Regions from separate parts of the Homo sapiens genome. Here regions 1, 2, 3, 4, 6 and 7 are each linked to region 5. Evidence: promoter capture Hi-C in 16 types of primary human blood cells and fetal thymus (Javierre and others, 2016). All regions are on one chromosome and are shown on one strand. Each heading gives the region's core, a stretch centred on a gene start or on the middle of the fragment in contact. The rest is flanking DNA. Distances are from core to core; before and after follow the strand shown.

Region 1 (3,716 bases), core at 743-3,242, 710 kb before region 5:
AGCTGCAGACTACAGCTGTTCCTATTTGGTCATCTTGCCACATCCCCGAGTATAATCTTAAAATAAGGAAAATTCCTTTAACTGTAATAATCTTGGACCTATTTACAAACTTACTCCATTTTGTGATTTTTCTCATTTTACCATGTTCTTATGAACATATCATCTGACACCTATATCACACTGGCTGGGAATCACAGGTCTATGACCCAGTGTTTTGCCTCATGACAGTTTGCATGGAGAGGGCTGTGCTGAAAAAGTCAGGACCCTTCAGCCTTGTTTTCCAAAGGATGGAGAGTCAGTTTCCCAAAGTCAGCCCTTCTGGGCCCTCAGAGCAGTTGGCTGGTTGCATGCTTCCTATTGTTGTTCTTCATCATTTATCATGGGTGTGGAGTCATGTGAAATGTGCAAATGCTAACTCAATGTAGACAGCGAATTAGTCTTCCACAGTGACCATTTGATATGCTTATTTCCTTGAAATTCTTATACCTGTTCCTATGACACAGAACTATGAGCATATGTTCACAGACCAGATTCTCCTAGTAATACCTTTAGAGTATGGTTCACTGAGAAATCAATGACATGATAATGGAGTTCTGTCAGAGGAGGCAGGTGATGTTACTCACCAGAAATCCCAAATAGGTACTCACTGCTCCTCAACAAGTAAAGGCTCAGAACTTCCAGATCCAGTACTGTGGTCCACTGCCTCTTCTACAGATGCTCTTCTCTGCCCCAGGCCCACAGTATCTCAAGGTTACTGTGGCTTAGATAGCATTTACCTTTATATCTGAAAGAGAGTAGAGAATGAGGGGACATTTGTGTTGAGGTCCAGGAATCAGACCCATCTGGGTGTTATGGGTTATTTTATGATTACTGGAAACAAAAAAGATTTCCTTGGCACACAATATTCAGGGGGAATTCCTGATTCCTCCATCCAGCTAAATTCTCTTTCCATCGAACTAAAGCAAGTGGGGACTCCTGGAATAATGCAAGGCTTTGATGGCAAAGTCCCTGAACACGGGGAGGGGAGTCACACACATCCCTCTCTTCCTCTCAATTTCAGGACAAGGAAGGATAAGTCCACATTCTTCCTATCAAACTCTCACTAGAGATTAGAAATAGAGACTTTGAACTGTGCCTTGGGCATCTCCTCAGGCACTGGAGCAGATGTAGCTCTGAGAAGAAAACAGCATGGCCGCATCCTTTTATCCAGCTCCTGCTCTATAAATTGGCAAAGGGAACTCATCTTTTATTCTAGTTCTATATAATTTACTCCAAATTAAGGAGGAATTCTTAATTATAAATGTTAAGCAGAAGTTGCAAATATGTAAGTTTAATGCCTCTGTTTAAGAGAGGCATTAATAAGAGAAGATTGATCTTTCTTCTAAGGGTACTGGTCTTTCAAGAGAAAAGTAATCTTACACAATTGATAGAAGAGGTTAGTGCTATGATAAAATTTAATACATCCATTGTGCACCATTGAAATTATTTGACTTCACTCACTGACTGCTGTTTCTGCTAAATTGATATCTTAGATCTAAGAGTGATTTGCCATATTCTAGATAGGACTAAGCGGCCTGGTGCAAAATAACCCTGAAGTGTTCACGACTGACCCCTCAGCCCAGACAAAATCATGGAGATGCAGACCACACACCAAATTGAAGCTGAAAACGTGAGATACCTGGGATTATCACAGCCATCCAGAGAGCATCCTTCTCCATACACATAAATTAAGGCATGTGCCCTATGCCCTTTCTCCAATATGATTTTCCTCTAATCCTTGGAACCACTAGAAGAACACTAACTGCCTGACTCTCCTATTCTCCTGACAATACCACAGATGAATTAGGAACCCATTTTCCTAATTCTCTGTGTGTTGGTTTGTTTGGACAGTTACTCTAGTGAAATCGAGTCTTCACAACAAAAGATAGAGGACCCAGACTAAGCAACTTGCCTAAACCTGAGGACTAGAGTCACTTTTATCATGGCTCATTGACATGATACATTGACATATAACGCTCTCCTGAGACAGTTACACTCCCACCTTCTCCCTCTATTCCTATTCCTGGTTATTCCAAACCTCTCCTTCTCCTGTTCTTCACCTTCCAGATGTACTGGTTAGCATCTTCTCCTCATGGCTGAGAAACAATGGCTTACTATCCTGTTTGCCAATCCTTGTTCCACCTTCCTTCAAGTCTTTCTTCCTCATTCAGAGAATGAATATTATTGCTTCTCAGTTTTTTGGCTAAGATTAAGTGAGAATGAATGAGTGAATATTAATTTTATCTTGTGATTAAGTGAGAATGAATGAGTGAATATTAATTTTGTCTTGTACTTATTGTAGTAACTTCTATATAAAATTTTAAAGAGGACAACATTTCTGTCTCAACACCGTCTTGCCTTTCGCAACCTTTCAGACAAACATCTCAGGCTTCCATATTTTCCCTATTGTCTGCTCTAACGTAACATGATTTCCAGGAAAGATAATAAATTGCTCACTGTAAGGTAAAAGGTTGCAAAGTTTATGCCTTTCCAAAGAGATTTGCTTTAACACAGGACCAAAATTTCAATTTCCAATTCTGGAAATGCAAAATCAGTAAGAAATCTTGGAGAAGGACAATTTTCTGGTATCCTTTAAATTATACCCCTACAAACATTGTGTTCAAATAACAACTCACTCATGGTTCATAAAATCATTTTCATGGATTAATATCAGTTTATTTTTTAATAGAATGGAAGGAAACAAATATCAATGTACATCAATTAGAGTAAGCGTAAACTTTTTTTTAGAATTTTCATTTCCGTTTTTTATAAATGTACAACATATATATGTATATGTAATTATAAGCAAAATATATAAATGCATTTCTTGTTATGATCATCATCAAAAAGTTTGAAAGTTACCTGCCCCTCACCCCTAGATCATGTTACCAAATGCTTTTGATTCCTCTTGTGCAACTTCACTAACATGCATCCCTGCTTTTCCATCCCCATCACTGTCCACATAGGTCAGATTATTCATTTCCGTTCTGAAGTTCTACAATAATCACAAAGCCTACATAACTGCTGTCTCTTACATTTTTCTGGGTGTTTACAGTCTCTAAGTCAAATTATTTCCTAATTCAAACTCTGAAATCTGTGCAAGACAAAAATCTGAATTCCTGTGCCTAGCCCTCAACCATCTGGCCCATTTTTACCTTGCCAAACCTTATCTCCTGCAGTTACCCAACTTGCCTCCAGGCATTCTTCTCTTTTCTGCACCAGATCTCTGCTCAAACCATCCTCCTCCCACTCTTTAGCTTGAAATGGCTCCCTTGCCTCATCTTCACGGCATCTTATCAGTCCCTGAATCCTTCAAGTCTCAGCCCCCTTCCCATGTCCTTCATCCCCCAGTGAATGCATTCACTGACCACCCCATACTTCTGAGAAAGCCTTAAATCTTATTATTTTTAACCTTTTCACTGGTGCACATTATTGGTGTACTCATATTTTCTGTTACTTTCTACATTCTTATCTTACCTTTCCAAGGAGATTTTAAGTTCCTTAAAAGAAAATATATCTTAAGTTTTTCTAGCTTGTTGCACTTAGAGCAAAGGTCCTCCATAAAAATGTTTTGATTGATTTTTCCTACTGTACACATGATGCTAAGGTCACTGTGACCCAATAGTTGAAAAATTGGCCATTAATTTTAAAAATACATACTATTGTGCTTATTTTTT
Region 2 (3,383 bases), core at 94-2,593, 570 kb before region 5:
GAGAATTGCTTGAACCCAGGAAGCAGAGATTGTGGTGAGCCGAGATTGTGCCATGGCACTCCAGCCTGGGTGACAGAGTGAGACTCTGTCTCAAAAAAAAATAAAAAAAATTTTGAGAAAATTCTCTTTTGTGTTATAGTTTATTTTTAATTTCAACCTGAAGGTTTATCTCCTTACAAATTTATTTAAAATAAGAGGTCTTGAGCTTCTTTCTGAGAGAAAATGAAGATTAAAATGGACATACAAGCATTCTCCTAAAATATTTTTAGCACCAAACATCTTAATTTACATTCAAATAAATGAGAACCACCATATGCCTTTATTTATTGCAAAGCTATGGATTATTGTACTATTGACATAAAAATCAGCTGGGAAGCTTAAGGACTTTTTCATATTGAACAGTTTGTACTTATGTTGTCAGAGATTCTGATTTTCCTTTGAATTTTCAAGTCAGATACCATTAGGGTATGGATTAAGCCTCTAGTTTTCTTTGCGTTTTTACAATAACTAATTTGCATGTACCTATCTTCAATTAAATTATTTTCAGTATTTTATAAAATGCCTGAGATGTTTTAGAACACAGTTTATATGATAGCACAATATTCAAAATTGCTTATAAACATCAAAAGTTATGGATTAATATGAAAATTTTACCATGTCTGATAGACCAGATTACATTGGGAGTGTCGGGGAGGAAAGGGGAAACAAACTAACCAGTTAAGGAATGAAGGCAGTACTTTCCCTTCAAGTAAAGACGGGAACAGAAAACCTAGTGTAAGGAAAAAGAGATAGCCTGAGATCATTATCTGTCTATCAGACGTATACATACAGGTTGCTAGATCAGTATCTTTTAATTTCACATTAAGCACACTCTCTTTGAGGAAGGAAAGTCAGTGTCTAATGATGTGAAGGCCAAAGAAAATGTCATAGTGCCCAGAAGTGGTTGCTGCTTTTAATTGGTATTTGTCATTTTAAAATGCTTTGTTAGGAGACAAGATTATGAAGGCTGTTGACATCAATTCTTGCCGGCCATATGCCTTTTATTGGGTTAGGAAATGTGCCATCACCTTTCAACAAACATTTACTTATTGTGGTTCGCTAAACTCGTAAAACTATTGTTAAAATAAGGGTTAATTTAATATTTCAGACAAGGAAGAGAAATTATATCCTTGTGGAATTTTAACCAAAAATTGATTTGAAATTTCTACATAAAAACATAATTTCAGTTTTTTACTTGCTTTACGTTTTATACCAAATTTGAGAAGCCTCACAGTTTCTTTTGGTTTCTGTTTGTTGTTTTTGTTTTTAGCAGATGGCCCATACCTTCAAATATTAGAGCAACCTAAACAGGTAAGATTAAAGGGGTGGGACTTTAAATGTTAGATTCCAGTGTCTAATATTGAGATCATAAGCACTGAAGAATAGTAAATGAGTTCTATGAAGGAAGTAGTTTATCTGAAAGATCAACAACCTGACAAATTATGTAACAGCTTTATTCATTCACTTTACATTTCTCTTACTCATTGTTCACACTGTCCTGAGCCTCAGTATGTAGTTCTGTAAAACTGCAGTTAATTACAGTATTAGAATTACAGTTAATTACAGTATTCTGCTGTCTCTACCAGCTTAACTTACCAGCCACTCCCAGGAAAGGCAGAGGTGATTTCCATTCATTTTCATTTATAAGGAAATACGTATGCATACAGTTCACATGCACTGAGCGATATCCATCTATTATCCTTGCACATGTAGTACCTCTTAGCCTTCCTCCTTCCTTTGGTAGCCCCAGCCTTTTCTGTGCTGCCTTTGGAACATGTAACCTAACATACTGAAAGTACCAGTGGGAAGTAAAATGTTAGAATGAACTATTGAATTCTCTTCCCTCTGGTGTCAGCCTCTTTGGAGTCAGGAGAGGAACATTTTTTCAGGTGCTTCCCCTTACCACTAGAGTCTGTAGAGAATAGCTCAGAACTGAAATGGCCTCCTCACTGTATCCAACTCTGTGGATATTTATAGGAAATTGGATGGGACCAATGCTGTGAAAGAGAAAGAAAGGCAATCTTTAATGTCTGCCTATAGGAGGTTTCAGTTATTAGGGAATGGAAATAATGGTGTAGTTCCCCACAGAATGAGGACAGTCAGTAAATCTTTGGATGGATAAACTAATCACATTTGTGTGTGACTGAGGATATGGATACCTGTCCTCTTGCAGCTGTATTACCCAATACATTTTCTAAGTATTCTTTTCATTAGCTCAGGTGAGTGAAACACTTTTGCATTTTGTAACATTTAACACATGCTAACTAGGTCACAAGCTTAAATAAAGCATCCACTGCGTTGTGGTTTCCAGAATCGTGACATTATATATGTGTTATATTTGGTCAGCATTTGATATAAATGTCTTAATGATTGCTGAACAGGCTATCCTTATAAGGTTGAAATTAGATGAAAGTTTTTGCTGTGGGGGCAAGAATGCCACATGAAACTTTGGGGCATGGTTCTAGTTCTTGCAGGTGTCACATCCTGACTCCTCAGGTTGCCAGTAACACTCCATTGCTCTACCTCCATGTTCAACTCTTTTAAGCAGTTATTTCTCAGAGAAGGTCATCAATTCCCAGTGAAATTTTATCCCTTAAAGTTCTGTGGGCTCTGGCATCCTGGAAAATTTCCCAGCTTTTAAGATCTAGGTAGTCTATGAAACAGAAATCAACTGAAATTTGTCTGCATATGCCAAAGTATTTTTTCCAATATCATTTTCATAAGCATAGCACTACAATAAGAATTTTTAAATGTAATTCCTTATTATGGATCCAACAGTTATAAGGAAAAATTGGCATTTATGATTTACCTGAAGGGTTAATGTAGTTCCAAAATTCAAAATTTAATTCATATAAAAGCTTATGTGAGTAAAACAATGTGTTTACCAAAGTGATGCTATTTTGATATCTGAATTCAGTGAAAGTAAGAAGGTTGTATTCAAGTCAGACTTTCTGACTGAATGGATGTAGCCTTGCCTTTGAGGTTGATGACTCATTTTAAGCAAATGGAGTTACTGAGATGAGTGAATGTGGATTAAAGGCAAAATTTTGATCTCAGAAATTTAGAATCAGAAATGCATCCAGACAATGCATTTGACGACATCTTCCTGAAAACAGTTGTAAATTTTCATCCTCAGATTAAAAACTTCTGAGGATTTAGATACTCGTATGTAACCATGAAAAATATCTATTAAGTATTGTCTATTTGACACCACTCCCAATAAGATATAAACACATACGTGTCTATATTTTTCCAACTGTCCCAAAGGAATTTTGTGATTAAAGATAATGAATTGTGTGTGTGTGGTTTTGGGGTTTTTTTTGTTTTTTTTTTTTAAGTTAGAA
Region 3 (3,643 bases), core at 829-3,328, 690 kb before region 5:
AGATGGTTAATTCATTTCATACAGTCCCAAATGCCAAAATACATTTTTTTCATGGAAAATTCAAGCTATTCCCAGATGTCAACCATAAACATGCATTTTCCTCCCCTTTTCTTCACTGTTTGGGTCATAAAACTAGTGCCACATTCACAGTAAGGAAGCAATGGCTCTAATTTTAATCTTTCATCTTGTTTTAGGCTAAACTGGAGGTCAGCTTTAAAGGGTATATTTGTTCTAGTCAGCCAACTTTATTGAGCCCTAACTATGCAGTAGGCATTGGGGAAAGTGGATGAATAAACCCAGTTTCTACTCTCAAGGATTTCAGTCTATTAATGGAAACACATTCATAGACAAATAATTATTAACAGTGAGAATCATTTCTACAGATACAAAGGAAAAGATTAAGCCTATGTAGCTTTTTGTGGCAGAGGTAGATATCAGGAAAGGAACTAGAGAAAGTTGGAAGTGTGAACACCATATGCCCAATAACTATTGAATGGATGAGCAAATTGTGGTACATCCACACAGTAGCATACCTGACAACAGTAAGAATGAACTACTGATACAGGCAACATCATGGATGAATCTCAAAAACATTATGCTCGCTGGACACAGTGGCTCATGCCTGTAATCCCAGCACATTGGGAGGCTGAGGAGGGAGGATTGCTTAAGTCCAGGAGTTAGACACCAGACAGGGCACTATAGTGAGAACATTTCTCTACAAAAAATTAGCCAAGTTAGTGGTGCATGCCTGTAGTCCCAGCTATTCAGGAGGCTGAGGTGAAAGGATCACTTGAGCCTGGGAGGCAGAGGTTGCCATGAGCCAAGATCAGGCCACTGCACTCCAGCCTGGGCAACAGATTGAGACTCTGTCTCAAAAACAAAATACAGAAACATTATGCTAAGTGCAGTATGCTGGATGTAGAAGACTACATAATGAATAATTCAATTTATATGAAATTATTTTAAAGACACAACTATAGTGACAGAAAACAAATCAGCAGATGTTGGGGCCGGGGGCAGGAGGAGGGGATAGACTGCAAGGTGACATAGGAACATTTTTGCAGAGTAATGTTCTAGATTACAATTGTAGTGCTTATATGACTATATAAGTCTGTCAAAAGCCATTGAATTGTACATACTCTTAAAAATTGGTAAAATTTATCATATATATTGCATTGTATTATGCCTTAATAAAGCTGACTTTTAAAAATGAATGAGTCCAATTTTGCTATATATACACAGGGCATAGGAAAGGCAGGAAGAGGTTTCTGGAGGAGACTGCAGATAGAGACAACCAAAGACAGGGAAACATAAAACAACATCAGGGAGAAGAAGGGGTTATAAGTGGTTCATTATTTCTGGAGCCGAAGTGAAAGAGTGAGGAGGACTGAGACCAGAATTAGATTATGGAAGACTTTATGGCCATTCTCATCTTCCTGTAAAAAGTGTAGCTTTGGCCTTCAACAGGAAACAGCAAAAAGAGAAAAACACACTCTCCTAATCGATGACAATATGAGATGCTCTTGAGGTAGCTTAAGTCAGATATTTACCTGGAATAAATAAATATAATTATTTACATTGTAAAATCTAAAGTGCTAGCAAGATTATTTCTCAGCAATGATGTTGGCTCCCAAGAGCACTCCAGAAAATATTCTATTTTGAATTAGAGGCAAATTCACTCTACCAAAATTTAGCAATGTCCTGACTATACACTAGCCCCACAAAGTGGTCATTTGCCCCCTAGCCAAGCCAAATTAAAAGTTTGTGACACTTTTACAACTAAATAATTTGAAAAAGTGAATTATCCATGATTAGTAGAAAAAAATGAAAATAGTGTTTTACCTAAGCATGAGAGAATAGGACAAAATAAGAAAAGTAGATTAGGACATAAAAAGAAGCTAAAATGAATAATTTTGTAAGAAAATAACCTGCCTCAACCACAGCTTTTGTCAAAGGGCTTCCCTCAGTTAATCGATATCTGAGTCTACCTATCTTGAGAGAAAGTGGCTCTTTTGCCCTCTATTACAAGAGCTGACCCAAAGAGACTCAGGGTCAGGGCTTGTCCTATACTCTGGGCCAGGTCACAATAACCAACCCTCACCCCAATACACACACACACACACACACACACACACTTTTTTGGTGTACATACCTTGCCCATGTGCTTCACCAGACATGCCTCCTGCTTCCTCCTCTAGCTCCAGAAAGCCTGTGTGTAAGCTCTGGCATCTGTCTCCTCACAGGAAAGAAAACCACTTGAAAGACATTATAGGAGCCTCATTTTACTTTCTGGGAAATTAATATAAAAGATCCATAGGTTTTAGAGATAGACTCCAATTTGGAGATGGATGCAGTAATAAAAACAACAAAAGATCACACAAATGTCACTTGTCTTCACAGTTAATACTTCCTCCTCTCCCTCTCCTCCCTTCCACTCTCTCTGTCTCTCTCTCCCTCCCTGCCCCCTCCTCTTTTGCTTGCATAGCTCCTTCACTTTATACCCATGCAGATAGAGTTGCCCAAATCAGCAAAGCAACTGTATCTGAAGTATCATGGGATAGATCTACCTCCATGTCAATATGCAGATTGTCTTGTCTTACCCTTCACACTGGAAGAATGATGATGATATTAATATTAGTAATTATAACAATAATATTTCCACTCATTAAACAACTACAACTCACCAGGCAGTCAACATTGCTAGTCCTTATAATCACCTGCAGAGCAGATGCTGCAATTATCTTTTTACAGATGAAGCACTGAGACTCATAGAGATAAAATAAGGTGCCCAAGGTCCAGTAAGGTGATAGTTGCAGAATGAAGATTGAAACGTTGATCAGTCTAACTCCAAATCTTATACTTTTTCCATAAAACACTGATGAAAAGTAAGGTGAGAAGGAAGGAAAGAACAAGAAGTCTGTTCTGTGTCCAGACATATTCAGGACCACATAGCTCCAAAGTTAGAGAAGCAAGTGCTGATGAACAAGACTTCAGAAAAATATCTATGTTCTATTCATATTCCACCAGTATTAAACCTGGCCACTGGAGAAGACAGTGTGGCGATTCCTCAAGGATCTAGAACTAGAAATACCATATGACCCAGCCATCCCATTACTGGATATATACCCAAAGGATTATAAATCATGCTGCTATAAAGACACATGCACGCATATGTTTATTGTGGCACTATTCACAATAGCAAAGACTTGGAACCGACCCAAATGTCCATCAATGATAGACTGGATTAAGAAAATGTGACACATACACACTATGCAGCCATAAAAAAGGATGAGTTCACGTCCTTTGTAGGGACATGGGTGAAGCTGGAAACCATCATTTTTAGCAAACTATCACAAGGACAAAAAAACAAACACCGCACGTTCTCACTCACAGGTGGGAATTGAACCATGAGAACACTTGGACACAGGAAGGGGAACATCACACACTGGGGCCTGTCATGGGGTGGGGGGAGGGGGAGGGATAGCATTAGGAGATATAACTAATGTAAATGACGAGTTAATGGGTGCAGCACACCAACATGGTTCATGTATACATATGTTAACAAACCTGCACGTTGTGCACATGTACCATAGAACTTAAAATACAATAAATAAATTTTAAAAAGAAAAAATAAAAGAAAAAA
Region 4 (3,649 bases), core at 507-3,006, 640 kb before region 5:
CCTCACCTGTCACCCTATACAAAAATCAACTCAAGATGGATCAAAGTCTTAAATCTAAAACCTGAAACCATAAAGATTCTAGAAGATAACACCAGAAAAACCCTTCTACACATTGGCTTAGGCAAAGACTTCATGATCAAGAACCCAAAAGCAAATGCAACAAAAACAAAGATAAATAGATGGGACTTAATTAAAGTAAAAAGCTTCTGCACAGCAAAAGAAATAATCAGCAGGGTTAACATAACCAACAGAGTGGAAGAAAATCCTCATCTATCCATCTGACAAAGAACTAATATCCAGAATCTACAAAGAACTCAAACAAATCAGCAAGAAAAAATGAACAATCCCATCAAAAAGTGGGCTAAGGATGTGAATAGACAATTCTCAAAAGATGATATACAAATGGCCAACAAGCATATGGAAAATGCTCAGCATCACTAATTATCAGAAAAACTCAAGTCAAAACCACAATGTGATACCACCTCACTCCTGCAAGAATGGCCATAATCAAAAAATAATAGATGTTGGCATGGATGTGGTGAAAAGGGAAGACTTTTACACTGTTGATTGGAATATAAACTGGTACAACCACTGTGGAAAACAGTGTGGAGATTCCCTAAAGAACTAAAAGTAGATCTACCACTTGATCCAGCAATCCCACTACTAGGTATTTACCCAGAGGAAAATAAGTCATTATACAAAAAAGATACTTGCACACACATGTTTATAGCAGTGCAATTTGCAATTGCAAAAATGTGGAACCAGCCCAAATGCCCATCAATCAACGAGTGGATAAAGAAAATTTAATATATGAATTCTGGCTAGGAGGCTTCTCGTTCTGCTCAAATTGTTACAAAGTTCAGCTAGAGAAGACCTTCCCGTGAAGTTTTACCCCCTGCTCCTCTGGCCATCCTCCTGATGGATGCCTGTGGTGCCAGGCAGGAATGGGCTACTTGGGGATCCAGCGAGCTCCCCGTGCCTTTCTGCTACTTCCTCTACCTCTGTATTTCACTCAGCTCAGCTGTCTAACTTGACTCAGCTCTTTCTTAGTGCCTGAAACATCTAAAAGGGAAAATCCAGAAGAAGACAGAGAGAAACTGAGCTCTTGACAATGCATTCACTAAAGAAAGTGACCTTTGAAGATGTAGCTATTGACTTCGCCCAGAAGAGTGGAGCTTTCTCTTGATGGACATATCCAAGAGAAAGCTGTACAGAGATGTGATGCTGGAAAACATCAGTCACCTGGTGTCCCTCGGGCATCAGATAAGCAAATCCTATATAATTTTGTAGCTGGAACAAAGAAAAGAGCTATGGAGGGAAGGAAGAGAATTTCTTCAAGGCCAGAGTCCAGACAGGGAAACTGCCCTTAAGAAAAAACACATGATATCCATGCATCCTATCATCAGAAAAGACTCATCCACCAGTTTGACAATGGAGAAATCTCTCATTCCAGAGGATCCCTTTGAACATAATGATTTGGGAGAAGATTGCACTCACAGTTCCACAATGACTCCATGTTTGTTAACTCACAGTGGAAAGAAACCCTACATCAGCAAACAGTGTGGAAAATCCTTTAGTAATCAGTTGTCCCCTAAACAACATAAATTCATACTAAAGGTAAGTCATATCAACGTAATCTATGTGAAAAGGCTTATACTAATCGCTTTCACCTTAGGCAGCACAAGTTGACTCACACTGGAGAGAGACCATATGCATGTCATCTATGTGCAAAAGCCTTCATTCAGTGTTCTCACCTTAGAAGACATGAGAAAACTCACATGGGAGAGAGACCACATAAGTGTCATCAGTGTGGGAAAGCCTATATTCAATCCTTAAACCTTCAAAGACATTAGAGAACTTACCTTGGAAAGAGATGTTATGAATGTGATAAAGGTGGGAAAGCCTTTAGTCAGAGCTCTGGCTTTAGAGAGCATAAAAAAAATCACACTGGAGAGAAACTACATGTATGTCTTCTATGTGGGAAAGCCTTCAGTCTATCTTCTGACCTTAGATGACATGAGAGAACATGCACTGGAGAAAAGCCATTTGAATGCCATTTATGTGTGAAAGACTTCAGTCAATGTACTAATCTTAAATAGCATGAGAAAATTCACCCTAGAGAGAAAATTATAAACATCTTCAGAACATATTCTGACTTTAGATGACATGGTGTTAGGAATGACGAATGTAAGGAATGTGGAAGAGACTTCAGCTATAGTTGTAACATCTAAACATGCCAAAGGACTCAAATCTTGAGGAAATACTGTAATCAACATGGAGTATACTTCGGTTACGTTTATTCTTCAGTCCACATCAATGAATGGAAGAGAAATTGTATGGCATGTATGTAGCAAAGACTTGTTAGTGATCTGATCATAAACGACATGAGAGAGCTGAAACTGTCAACATAATAAACTAAAAGTCTTAAGCAACAGCTTTGACTTAAAACATGTGGGACTTTCAGGTAGAGAATCTCTAGCTCTATATGTATACATGGAATCTCTATATAGAGAGTCTCTAGCTCTATATGTATATATGTAACATATATACATATATGTTACATATATACATATATTGTTGGAAAAAAGAAAATGTGTATATATATGTGTTATATATAACGTATATATATTTCAATATTTGTAAGTATTATTTTATAATTATTTTGTAAGTATTATTTTTGCATTATTTCAATATTTGTAAGTATTGATCTTTTGGAAAAGTTTAATGAAATTTCTTATATAATTCTGCATTCAATTTATTCCCAGGTCAATTTGCTATTATACATTTACATGCCACATTTTTATGAATAGACATTTTCTCAAATTTCTGAATTATTTTGCTAAACTATGTGCTAAGAGTTTTTTCTAGAGGTCCACCTTCTTGACTCACTTTTCTGATGAGAAATCTATCAGGTTTCTCTACAGTGATTTTCAGGTTTGATAGCTCCTCAATGTGAGAAACTTAATGTCAACTAAGAAATGAATTACCACTGAAGAGTTTTCTCATTTCAAGATGCTGACTGTGTTTTGTCCAGTGTGAAATTTGACATGTGCCACAAGTGTTGCTCTATGAAGAAAGGATTTCTCATGATTTTTCATTGCATAATTTCTCCAGTAATAAGTATTTGGTATTTCAAGAGAATTCATTGCTCTCGGTAAGATTTTCCTTTCTTATTTAGCTTATAAAGGCTTTCCTCTCTTATTTTCCATTTTAGCAACATTTTATCACTGTGTTTTCTTGTGAACATCAAAACTGGTGCTTGGCTGAATGTTTAGTCACAGAAAATACAAATAAAGGGTTCATCCAAGTAAAGCTTTCTTATGTTATTTGACAATAAATTGCAAATAAAAAACATTTTCACACTGAATGCAGAGCTAGAGATTCTCTACCTGAAAGTCCCACATGTTTTAAGTCAAAGCTGTTGCTTAAGACTTTTAGTTTATTATGTTGACAGTTTCAGCTCTCTCATGTCAATTATGATCAGATCACTAACAAGTCTTTGCTACATACATGCCTTACAATTTCTCTTCCATTCATTGATGTGGACTGAAGAATAAAGGTAACTGAAGTATATTCCATGTTGACTACAGTATTTCCTCAAGATGTGAGGAGATACATATACATATATATATACATGTATACACATATA
Region 5 (3,472 bases), core at 387-2,886:
CTGGAGAAAATAGCAGGGATGGAGAGATAGGTGGATTGGAGAAGTGTTTCAGAGATGAGATAGGTAGGACCTGATCACCAACGTGGCTAATTTCAAAGAAATGTTATTTGCCCAGTGTTTTGCAGCTATGAATTCAAACCTAGGCCTTCTTGTTGCAGGTCCAAGGGAAGATCTCATGGCATTGTCTCATGGTACTCAAAGCCCTGCGGGCCTCTCTAAATCCCCACTGTGGCACCAGGAGCCTGTGCCTCGCAGACCGCTGACCCCAGGAAGTAATGGACAATGAGGCGCAGCTGCTGCTGCCTCTCTGGGTTTGTGCTGAGGCCACCTTCTCGGGGCCGTTACAAGCCAGTGCCTGAGCATGCATGCTTACTAAGGCAGACTCATTTCTGGGAGACATAGACCTCCTCCCCAACGGATGACTGGCTAGAGAAGCTCCTTATTACCTTGCTGAAGTTCTCTTAGACTGCACAGCTGTCTGGGATGCTTCCACTCAACCTGGTTTCCTTCTTTTCCTCCCTCGCGGGTGGACTTGCATCGAGGTCTGATGGCTCTCACAGCCTTACCTAGTTCTCTCCTCATTCTCTCTCACAACAGCATTTCCCCTAATAAAATCCATGCATATTTAATTCTATCTTGGAGTCTGCTTCTTGGAGGAGCAGACTAACACAATTATGTAAGAACTGGCTCCAGGGATCAGCTTATAATCACTGACTTCCTCTGAGTTTGTCCACATTTTTTAGGCGATGGGGAAGCTTGGCTTTAACAGTGCCTGACCTACTTTGATGCAATGAATTTTTGCTTTTTTACTTCTTACACAAAAGATAAACATGGAATGTTTATCATTTCAACATGGAATGACAGTTTCTAAAGTATAACTTTAGAAAGATATACTTTATCCTCCTTGAATCCTAAGCATGGTGCACAAAAGCTATTTTACAACACTGTCATTAGTGATATTGGGTGTATGGCCCTGTAAAGCCTCCAGTCAAAGGTTTTGCTAGGAATCTTTGCCAACCGAAGAAGCACTTCCAGAACAAATGCCGAAGCACAGAGCAGCCTTTCTATGCACTCTGAAAACCTCCTCTTAGCTGGCCTTCCTGTCTTTCTGGGACCAGATTTTGGGGTCAAAGCCTTAACATTTGATAAACTGTAATCTCAAACTAAAACAGATTTCTTTGAGAAAATGAGAGCAAACACGGCCTGAAATGGTAAAACAAGGCACCTCTCAATATATCCAATGTGAAAACCATACATGTTGGCTTCCTTAGTCCAAAAGTTAGAATCAAAATGTTGATTTTTGATTAGCAGAGACACAAACAGCATATTCAGGAAGCCATTGTTTTCAAGAGCCAGGAAGAAAACTCTTCACTTAGGATACCGTAAGAATCCTTTTTTCTTGGGCTACTTTATAAAACATACATACCACAGAGTTTCAGGCTCTTTAAAAACCCATCTTTACACTGATCTAACTGCTCAGATTAATTTTGAAACAGGCAACGTGCAGAAAAAAACAACATCTAAAAATTAAACCTCCCCTCTTTCCGTTCTAAAGTTTCATTTCAAAAGTATTAGGAAATCTTACTTTAAGCAGCGAGCTGATGGCGTTCTCCAGAACTCGGTTTGAGCAACAAACTTGAGACAACCTTTGTCTGGAAGCAAGTCAAGCGCTTAATAATGCATGCTGGGATTTGTAGTTTCCCTGCTTTCAGAGTTTAGTGGCTCCATCCATACACTTTATAAATGTATGTGCTGCCATCTAGTGGAATTCAGGTAGAACTATGAATTCCAAGTGGAAGGTGAAAAGTGGAAAAGCACCTTAGAGCTTACTTAGGATGCGGAAATCATTTCCTTCACTTCAGTCTCTCCACTTCTCTGTTTTGTTTATGCCTACTATATGCGGTGCCAGGGTAGACGAGATTGGCTGAGCTGGAAACTGCGTGTGGAAGATAGCAGAGCAACAAAATAGAGGGAACCCAGGTCACTGAAAATTCTGGAGCCTTCCTGTCACTTGGCCTGGATTGTTTTAAGGGAGAGAAATAAAAAAAAAAATCCTTTTTGTTTGAGATACAGTTGTGATTTTTATTTTTTCATGCTCAGAATATTCTAACACTAATGCACATTTAGTGGCAGAATGCCAGGAGCCTTTTACTACACTGGGAATGGGGTTGGGGAGAACGTGAAACTTGGATGACAGGGTGGAGGCTTAAAAGGGAACATGTTAACAGCGAAAAACCCCAGTTTGGCTGAAGAGAACAGAGATATAAGGTCAAAAAGAAAGGACTAGATCTCATGAGCCCTCTAGGTTAGGATAGCAACATGTGCTTTATCTGTAGTGCCAGTGAGCAGAGTGATTGTGTAGGCTACTTGTACATGTACTGTATAAATTGGTTTCCTCAGCACCCATCCAACTCACTTTCCCCTTTTTTCACTTGTCAAAGCTGGAAAACAAAAGTCTCTACTTCATAGCCTTGTTTGCTGCTAGGGGTGGCCAAGCAGCATAGATGTTGCCAATGAAATGCAGGTGGGAATTTCTGAGGAGGGCCTCCTTCTTAAATAGAAAAGTAAGCCCTTCTGAAAGGCTTTTAGCTTTTGCTCCTCCCTTTCTTTTTGCCTGGAATGAAGATAGGATGCCGTGGGACAGAGCAGCCATTTAGTGAGTTCATCTGAGGCCAGAGGCACACATTAACGACAGGGACCAGCAAGAGAAGGAGCCTGCGGCCCTGATGACAGCCTCAAGGCAACAACTCCTCTGGACTTCTTATGTGAGGACAATAAACTTTAGTGTTTTTCACGTTTTTTGTTACATGGAGCTAAGTGATTTCTAACAGTCACAGGGGATAAGAACAAAGACTGTGGCGTCAGTAAGACTAGAGCAAGTCCCATATCTCTCTCTCACTAGCTAAGTGAGTAAATCACTTAAATCTCTGAACCTCTTATGTTTCTCATCTGTAAAATGAAGGTAAAATAGCACCTACCTCAGGGATGTGGTGAGGAGGAACGACTAAGCCTGTGAATCCATCAGCACAATGTTTGCCACACAGGTGCTTAATACATGTTAGTGATTCTTATGATGAAGACATTGTTGGAGAAATTTAATTATAATGGATGGTAAAAGTTGCGCTTTTTAATGTTCTTTTAAAAACTGGACTTAGTTTCTGCATGTGTCTATATGAGGTCTATGGTAAAATTGTCCCTCCTTGTTCATTGTTTCAGCAACTTCTAATGCTGGCTCTAACAATCTGTAATCACATCTAGCTTTGTTCCTGCTTTACTAATAATGCCCTTTGACTTTTGAGGCTTTTGGAACAGACTTTATGAGAGTTCTCTAATCAAAGCCAACTCCAATGCTTCTTGATGTAGCTTTCTTCAGCATCCCTCTGTAATCTTCAGCAACAATGCTTACTTGATAACAGCCTAAGTCACATGGTATTGCAAATACTTGCTTACCCATTAGTATTCTCAGCAGACT
Region 6 (3,632 bases), core at 636-3,135, 610 kb before region 5:
CACAAATGTTTTAGTGGTTTTATTAATATATCCCAAAACTGGAAACAACCTAAATGTCTATGAACAGGAAAATGGATAAATAAATTGTGACTATCTATACAATGGAATGCTACTCAACAATAAAAAGGAATTAACTACTGATACAACAAGGTGGATGAATTTTAAGATAATCATGCTCAATGAAAGAAGTCAGATAAAAAATAGTACCTACTGTATGATTCCATTTATATGAAACTCTAGAAAATGCAAACTAATCTATGACAGAAAGCAAATCAGTGGTTGCTTAGGAATGTGGAGGAGTGAGGAATGGAAATGAGGAACTGCAGAGGGCCATGAGAAAACTTTTCAGCTGATGCACATGGTCACTGTCTTTATTATGGTGATGGTCTCATGGGTATATATATATATCAAAAACAACTCTCTCTCTCTCTCTCTCTCCAATCCCCCAACCCCATCTCTTACAACAAGAAAGTATGTCCCTAGTATATCTGGAAGCCATCTTTTGACCAAGAGAAAAGCCAGCATGAGGAAACTGTTAACACAGGGACAGAAGAAAAGAAAATGTCTCTGAAGGGAAGAGAGCCAGAATTGTGATTACATTAAACCTAAAGATTTTCAACGATGTGACCTGATGAAATTCCATAATGGTTAAGTCATTTTGAGTCATAATTTTACATCTTTTCACCTTAGGTGAAAAGCATCCTAACCAAGATAAGTATATGCTCAGCATTATATTGATAATTTATAATACGCCATTGGAAAAAAACTCTCTTCCTGGCATTTAATTATATTACTTATTTCAAAGAAAATGCAGTAAAAAACTGATCTGTATATCTACTGATATGTCTATCAGTAAAACAGATAAGTATATCTATGTATACCTACTATGCATAAGCCTTACAGGTGCTACATAGAGGTGATATCTGTTGTTTATACTCTTTGTCTTCCCTTCTTCCTTTTTTTGATAACAGTGCCCCAATTTACGCTTAGCTAACCATAATCTAGCATTACTAATTCATGTCTTCCAGATGAGATAGACCCTCCTTGTCACTAAAAGTAGACATGTGACTCACAGCATTGTAAGAAGATAGTAATGGAACACAGGTCCCCAAATTTACCCTCCCAATCTCTTCTCAATTACTTTCCCCAACAAGAAAAAATGCTACTGCAGGTAAGCAGGGGCATCTAAAGCAGGGTCACTTGAGGTCACAGGCTCCAGGGTCTCTAAAAGGAAAGAGATACTCTCACTCTTCTCTGTTTTAGGTAGTCTGGAGGGCCTTGTTATAGAAAGACTTAAAACAAAGGTCTCAATTTTATGGCTTCCAGTGAAAGTTAGCCTGAGGAAACCTATGAATGCCTTCAGGAAAGCATTACATGGGCTTATTTGTGTGTGTTCTTGGGAAGGTCAGACTAATCTGGGTAGTGACAGGTCATATGGAGGAACGCTGCACTCATGGAAGAGTTGCTTGTAGCCCCTGAGGTTAGGCAAGCATTCTCCCTTGCACCCAGGGAGCTCTGGGAGAAGAAAGACTTTTTTTAAAGCTTCAGCTGGGTGTGGACAGATTGCCAGTTGGTTTACTGCCAGCCCACAAAAGCAGAAACCTTTCCCCTGGCAGGTTTGCCACTGCATAAAAGACCCTAACTACTTGTCCTGTAATTATAGGTCAGTGTATACAGAGCCTGAGGTCTGAACAGGAAATGGAAAATAATAACTTGCCCTAGTAGTACTAGCAAGCCAGAGAGGAAAACTAAGATAAACACTTCAAACAGGTGTTTTGTTGAAATAGAACTGTTAGAAGAGCCAGGTGAAAACTTTTCTAAAAAGTAATAAATTCACTCAAGAAGATATAATTAAAGATTAGGAGTTAAATATATGATAGATGCTAGAATGATAAAATATACATATTTTAAAAATAGGTAATGACTCCATGTGTTTCTGACAGTATACCCTTCCTGGTTGAAATAACTAAAATGAAATAACTAATGGAAATAACTGAAATGCTACATAACATATTTTTAAAAATTAATACTGCTTAGCCGGCATGAAATTCAGGAATCTAAATATTTCCAAAACTGAAAAACTGGAGGGAATAGCTGAGAAATTGACTTAGTCTGTTTTGTGTTGCTATCACAGAAAACCACAGACTGGGTAATTTATAATGAAAAGAAATTTGTATCTCACAGTTCTGGAGGCTGGGAAGTCCAATATCAAGGTGCCAGCATCTTGTGAAAGCTTTCTTGCTACATCATCCCATAGTGAAAGGCAGAAGAGCAAAAGAGCAGACACTCAAGAGAGAAAGTAACCTACTCCTACAATAATGGCATTCATCCATTTATGGGGGTAGAGACCTCATGACCCAATCAGCTCTCAAAGGTCTCACCTCTCAACACTGTTGAATGGGGAGTTAAGTCCCAACACAGGAACTTTGGGGGACATGTTCAAACGATAACACTGCCTATCTAGTCCTTGTCACTGGACAGAAAAAGAAGAAATTCTCACCTGTGAATTCATAACCACTTACACTATATGTGATGATCAAAAGCACACAAGTAAAAAATTTTATTTAAGGTTTTTCCAAGTTAATAGTATACCAGATAACAGGCAAAAAGAAGCACAAATATTCCTTACTCAATTTTAACCTAAGCTTCAAATAATTTCCAGAGATTGTTTCAAGAAACGTAAGCAATTTATTATTTATAATTCAGTTGACATATTAAACAGCATATGAAATATAGCTGAAAAGAGAATTGATAAACTAGAAGGCAAATATAAAGAAATTATCCAGAATGAAATCCAAAGAGATAAGAGATATTAAAAGACACAGAGATTAGATTGAGAAGATCTAACATATACCTAATTTAAATTCCAGAAAACAAGTCTAGGGAAAATGAAAGAGAGGAAATGTTACAAAAGATAATGGACTAGGAATGTAACTGTTGAAACATCAAATCTTGAGACCCAGGGAGCCATATAACATGCTTCCAAAATCCAAGCTTATTATATTAATATACAAAAACATTAATATTAATATTATATATTAATGTTATTGTTAATATAATCATTATATTATTAAACATATAATTTATACATAAACAATATATTATATATAAATGTATATGATATATAATATACAATAGTTATAATATATAATAAATTATATATTGACTTCTATATAATATAGAATTATATAACTTATAAATTATATATAGCTTTATATATAAATCAATAATTATATATTGATGTGTACAATTATTATTTTATATTATTATTAATAATTATATAATTGGTATTATATAAATATTAATTTTATATTGCAATAGTTATAAAGTAAATATCATATAACATTATTAATATAATAAATATAGTATATTAATATTAATAACTTGTATTTATTAACAATATATTAATAAATGACATAATTTCACATTTCTTTCAGATTTCTGTAAAAGCTTATCAGGAGTTATATATATGCAAAACCATATTTATCTTATTAAAGAGGCATGTATAAGTGTCAGACCATCACTTATGAATAGATTTGACAGCCAGATATACAACCTTTCAGAAAACAGAAGCAAACCTCCTCCATAAAAACAAGTAATTGGCAGCTGTCTCAATGATGTCCAGTAACTAG
Region 7 (3,672 bases), core at 292-2,791, 580 kb before region 5:
TTTATCACTGTAAAGGTGCCTTTACATTGCCTTCTAGCTTGTACTGTATCTAATGATCATCAGAAACATCATGCTTATCATGCTTATCAATTGTTCCCCCATATATAATATGTCCTTTCTTGTCCTTTGCTATTTTGGGATTTTTTTTTTCTCTAGCATTAGTTTTTAACAGTTTGGCTGTAATATGCCTAACCATGGTTTTATTTGTCTTTATCCAGCAGAGAGATCTTTGAGATTCTTGGATCTGTGGGTTGATTTTTTAAAAATCAAATTTATAAAAATTCTCAACTGTTATTTTTTTGAATATTTTTTCTGTCTTTTTTCTGTTTCTGGGATTCTATGTTACAAATACGTAAGACTGCTTAATATTGTCCTGTAGGTCACTGAAGCTGTGTTCACTTCTTTCTACCTTTTTTTCTCTGTAATTCAGTTTGGGTAGTTTTTATTGACCTTTCTTCTAGTTTATTGGTACTTTCTTCTATAATGTTAAATATGCTAAGTCCATCTAGTGAAATTTCATTTCAGTTCTAAAATTTCCATTCTTTTTTTTAAAAGAAAGGTATGCATTTCTTTGCTGATATTGCCTATCTGTTCTCTCATTATGTTCATCTTTTCCTTTACATTATTGACCATATGCTATTAGCTATTTTTGTCATTTGTGTCATTTTTTTTCTCAGTCTTATTTTCCTATTTCTTTGCAGGCTTCATTATGTTTTATTGTACATTGTGGAGAGTTTGGGTTTTTTGTCTTCCTTTAAAACGTGTTGAGCTTTGTTGTAACAGGCAGTGAATTTACTGGTGGATCACCTAGTTTTATTAAGATAGGTTTAGAGTAGCCCTTATTTTAGGATGTTTCTAACTCCCATCGTGTGGTCTTTCTGAAATCACAACTGAATGCTCACAATGTTCAGTGATGTCTTTCCACCCTGGATTATTACAAATTCAGTGTCTCTCAGCACTATATGATGTCCGGAATTTCCATTTAGCTCTTAGATGCCCAGAAACTGTTTTCTATTAGGTTTTGCAGGGTCTTGTCCTACACTATCACAGCTTGGTATTTGGCCAGTGACCAGAGATGACCCCTATGTAGATTTCTGAGGCTCTTGCTTTTTGTGTAAAGCCTTTCTTTGTGATATTCTGCCCATTGGTGTTCTCTCTTTGGGCTCTCCCTGTGTCATGATTTGGAAAGTGTCCTCAGTCAAAAAGTGAGGGCGAATTTAGAATTTACCTAAATCACCTTATAATATATAGCCCTATGAAGTCCAATGTCTTAAATTACATCTTTAGGTATTTTGTATGGTTTCACAGTTGAGTATAGCAAGGAGGGAGGTTCAGATAACTGTTAATCTGTGATAACTAAAACCAGAATTTGACATTCTGACAAACTTGAAATTGCAGTGCTTCTTAAAATTAATACAGTATTACTTAAAAAACAAAAACAAAAAAACCAGTGTTTTCCAATTTGCCAATACAAAAAAGCAAAACTCCCATCTCTACTTTTTAGGAACTTCTATCCATTTGAGAAGATGATAAATATATAGGTAAAGTTAGATTGCAGTAAAACTATGCTGTCTAGTGTTAAATCACCAGTATATATAAGTTTTATAGATATTATGTGACTACAGAGCTATAGGTTATAGGAAAAATATAGGATTTCTTGGCAGAAATTGGATTTAACTAGAGCCTTGAAGAGTGGATGCTATTGAGGTAGAAAAGATGGCATTTCAGGATGCAGGGCATATTGTGAACAAATGTACAAGATGGAAATGAGCAAGTCATTCTGAATGATTAATCTGTCTATCATAGAGGGTTTTGATTAGGACATAGTAGTAGTTGATGCTTATAATATGATTTAATATAATAATGTAATGTGCTGAGTGGTTGAAGTCTTTGGACTTTATCTTATAAGTAATATGGCAATAATGTGAAAGATTCTTGAAGAGGAAGAAACCCTGCAGTGAGGGAGAACAGTACAGAGCCTATTACTGTCATTCAGAGGTGAAGCAATAAAGGTCTCTCCTAGGATGTTGGAAAGAAGGGGCAGATCCAAGAAACAACATGAAGAAAATAATCAGCAGAAATTGGTTATTGACTAGATATGTGTGAAAATGATATATTGGCAGAAATTGCAAAGTCAAAAATGGGGCTCATTGCAGCAGGAATGATGAAATTGCTTTTAGATAGAGAGGTGAAGGGATTTAAAACATTAACTTGTTTTAAAGGTATCACTGCTTAAAGCTAACAGTGATTTATTAATATTTGCACTCTGAAAGTTTTAACAGTTTTAATTTTATGTATACACCACAGTGTTTTGGCTACTATACTTGCCTCTTTTGTTCAGTTGGGAATTGAGTAAACTAATAGAGTAAAAAAATGAGTACAAAGTGGGCTTTGACTAGAACTCTAACAAAGTGTGATCACTGAATTACCAAGATAATTAACCCATACCCCACATATACTCCATTTCCCATGACACATATTATATTGCATTGTTTTTGCCTATTTGCCTTCCTACTTCCTAAACTGTTGAATTAGTTTGCTTTTGTTGCATTAAAAAAAAGGAGAATCACCACAAAGCAAATTAAAAGATACTGATTACTTCTTCCAATTCTGTGGGCTGCCTAGTTCATCTGGCCTGGCCTGCTTTGGCTAATCTCTGAGGTCTTTTGGCTACTTGACTGGTACTGTTTGTAGCTACTCAGCTGGTGCCCTACTGCTGTTTGTCTGAAGTTGTTTTGGCTACTCAGCTGGTGCTAGGGAGCCTCAGCTAGGACTGCCTGTCTGTGCTCCACATGGTCTTTGATTTTCCAGTGGCTGGTGCAGGCTTGTTTGCATGGTAACAATGTTCCAAGAAAGCAAGAATGATCATTGCAAGGCCTCTTATAAGCTGGGTTTAGAACTTGTACTTCTACCTCTTCCTATTGGTCAGAGTATGTCCGTAGGTCTGCCAAGACTCAAAGCACAGAGAAATAGATGTTTCCTCTTGTTGAGTGGCATATAAAAAAAAGTGTGGCCATTGATTTCAATCTGCCACAACCGTAAGCTCTGTGAGTACAGGAACTGCATCACTCTTTTGCACTTTGGTGTTGTTGGCATAGTAGGCATAAATATTTTTAGGTGAATGACTAAATTAATGAAGGAAGGAAAACATTCAGGTAGTATTTCAATATACTGTAGTTTTAAATTATATATATTATATACATTTGACATAGTTTAATATATAAGTATATACACATATAGTTTTCATATATAAGTATATTATATATTATATAAAATATTTATATGTTATATATAAAGTATATATATAAAATATATAGTTTTAATATGTAAGTATATGTATATAATTATATATAATATTATAAGTATATATACTTTTATCATACCATCAGTGAGTATAGACATGGTTCAGGGAGAATCTCTTTATTCTCCTTCTATCTTTTGAGATAGACCAAAGAAAATTTTTTTTTAAAAAAAGAACTATCACTTGAGTTAACATTGTTTGGTATTTTTATCTTCATAGGTGATTGCCTTGTGAATAACTCATTTTGTGTATTGTCAGAATCCTATTCTGCTTTTCAGGCTGTGCTATGGGTAGACTAGCTCTAACCAGAACACTTGGGAGACCTGAAGCAAAGATACTATATTAAAATAAGTAATGTTATATGCCAAAGA

What was found. Contacts are between HindIII fragments. The CHiCAGO score rates a contact against its expected background, and 5 or more counts as called.
Region 1: a fragment that was not itself captured here is called in contact with the fragment with the promoter of BDH2 in region 5 in 2 of 17 cell types (monocytes and total CD4 T cells); the score reaches 7.6 in monocytes.
Region 2: a fragment that was not itself captured here is called in contact with the fragment with the promoter of BDH2 in region 5 in 6 of 17 cell types (total CD8 T cells, naive CD4 T cells, total B cells and 3 more); the score reaches 6.7 in total CD8 T cells.
Region 3: a contact is called between a fragment that was not itself captured here and the fragment with the promoter of BDH2 in region 5, in 8 of 17 cell types (non-activated CD4 T cells, total CD4 T cells, fetal thymus and 5 more). The highest score is 8.4, in non-activated CD4 T cells.
Region 4: a fragment that was not itself captured here is called in contact with the fragment with the promoter of BDH2 in region 5 in 5 of 17 cell types (naive B cells, total B cells, naive CD4 T cells and 2 more); the score reaches 8.2 in naive B cells.
Region 6: a fragment that was not itself captured here is called in contact with the fragment with the promoter of BDH2 in region 5 in 2 of 17 cell types (naive CD8 T cells and non-activated CD4 T cells); the score reaches 7.7 in naive CD8 T cells.
Region 7: a fragment that was not itself captured here is called in contact with the fragment with the promoter of BDH2 in region 5 in 4 of 17 cell types (total CD4 T cells, naive CD4 T cells, non-activated CD4 T cells and 1 more); the score reaches 5.9 in total CD4 T cells.

The regions. Positions count from the first base shown.
Region 1 is chr4:102,384,727-102,388,442 of GRCh38, forward strand. No RefSeq gene overlaps it. Among named protein-coding and RNA genes, the nearest start is that of SLC39A8, 41 kb to the left of the region's middle. The HindIII fragment of the contact is 4,429 bases long and covers 1-3,716 here.
Region 2 is chr4:102,532,536-102,535,918 of GRCh38, forward strand. NFKB1 (nuclear factor kappa B subunit 1) reads left to right here. Exons shown (of 24, transcript NM_003998.4): 4 at 1,310-1,350. Among named protein-coding and RNA genes, the nearest start is that of NFKB1-AS1, 32 kb to the left of the region's middle. The HindIII fragment of the contact is 1,939 bases long and covers 375-2,313 here.
Region 3 is chr4:102,411,665-102,415,307 of GRCh38, forward strand. No RefSeq gene overlaps it. Among named protein-coding and RNA genes, the nearest start is that of SLC39A8, 68 kb to the left of the region's middle. The HindIII fragment of the contact is 4,802 bases long and covers 1-3,643 here.
Region 4 is chr4:102,460,139-102,463,787 of GRCh38, forward strand. The region is part of intron 1 of NFKB1-AS1 (NFKB1 antisense RNA 1); the gene reads right to left. It also overlaps the pseudogene LOC100419863. Among named protein-coding and RNA genes, the nearest start is that of NFKB1, 39 kb to the right of the region's middle. RefSeq lists an enhancer at 3,385-3,649. The HindIII fragment of the contact is 3,110 bases long and covers 202-3,311 here.
Region 5 is chr4:103,098,198-103,101,669 of GRCh38, forward strand. It overlaps BDH2 (3-hydroxybutyrate dehydrogenase 2), which reads right to left and starts at 1,637. Exons shown (of 10, transcript NM_020139.4): 1 at 1,586-1,637. The HindIII fragment of the contact is 3,413 bases long and covers 754-3,472 here.
Region 6 is chr4:102,492,422-102,496,053 of GRCh38, forward strand. The region is part of intron 1 of NFKB1-AS1 (NFKB1 antisense RNA 1); the gene reads right to left. Among named protein-coding and RNA genes, the nearest start is that of NFKB1, 7.1 kb to the right of the region's middle. The HindIII fragment of the contact is 691 bases long and covers 1,541-2,231 here.
Region 7 is chr4:102,516,037-102,519,708 of GRCh38, forward strand. The region is part of intron 1 of NFKB1 (nuclear factor kappa B subunit 1); the gene reads left to right. Among named protein-coding and RNA genes, the nearest start is that of NFKB1-AS1, 15 kb to the left of the region's middle. The HindIII fragment of the contact is 5,636 bases long and covers 1-3,672 here.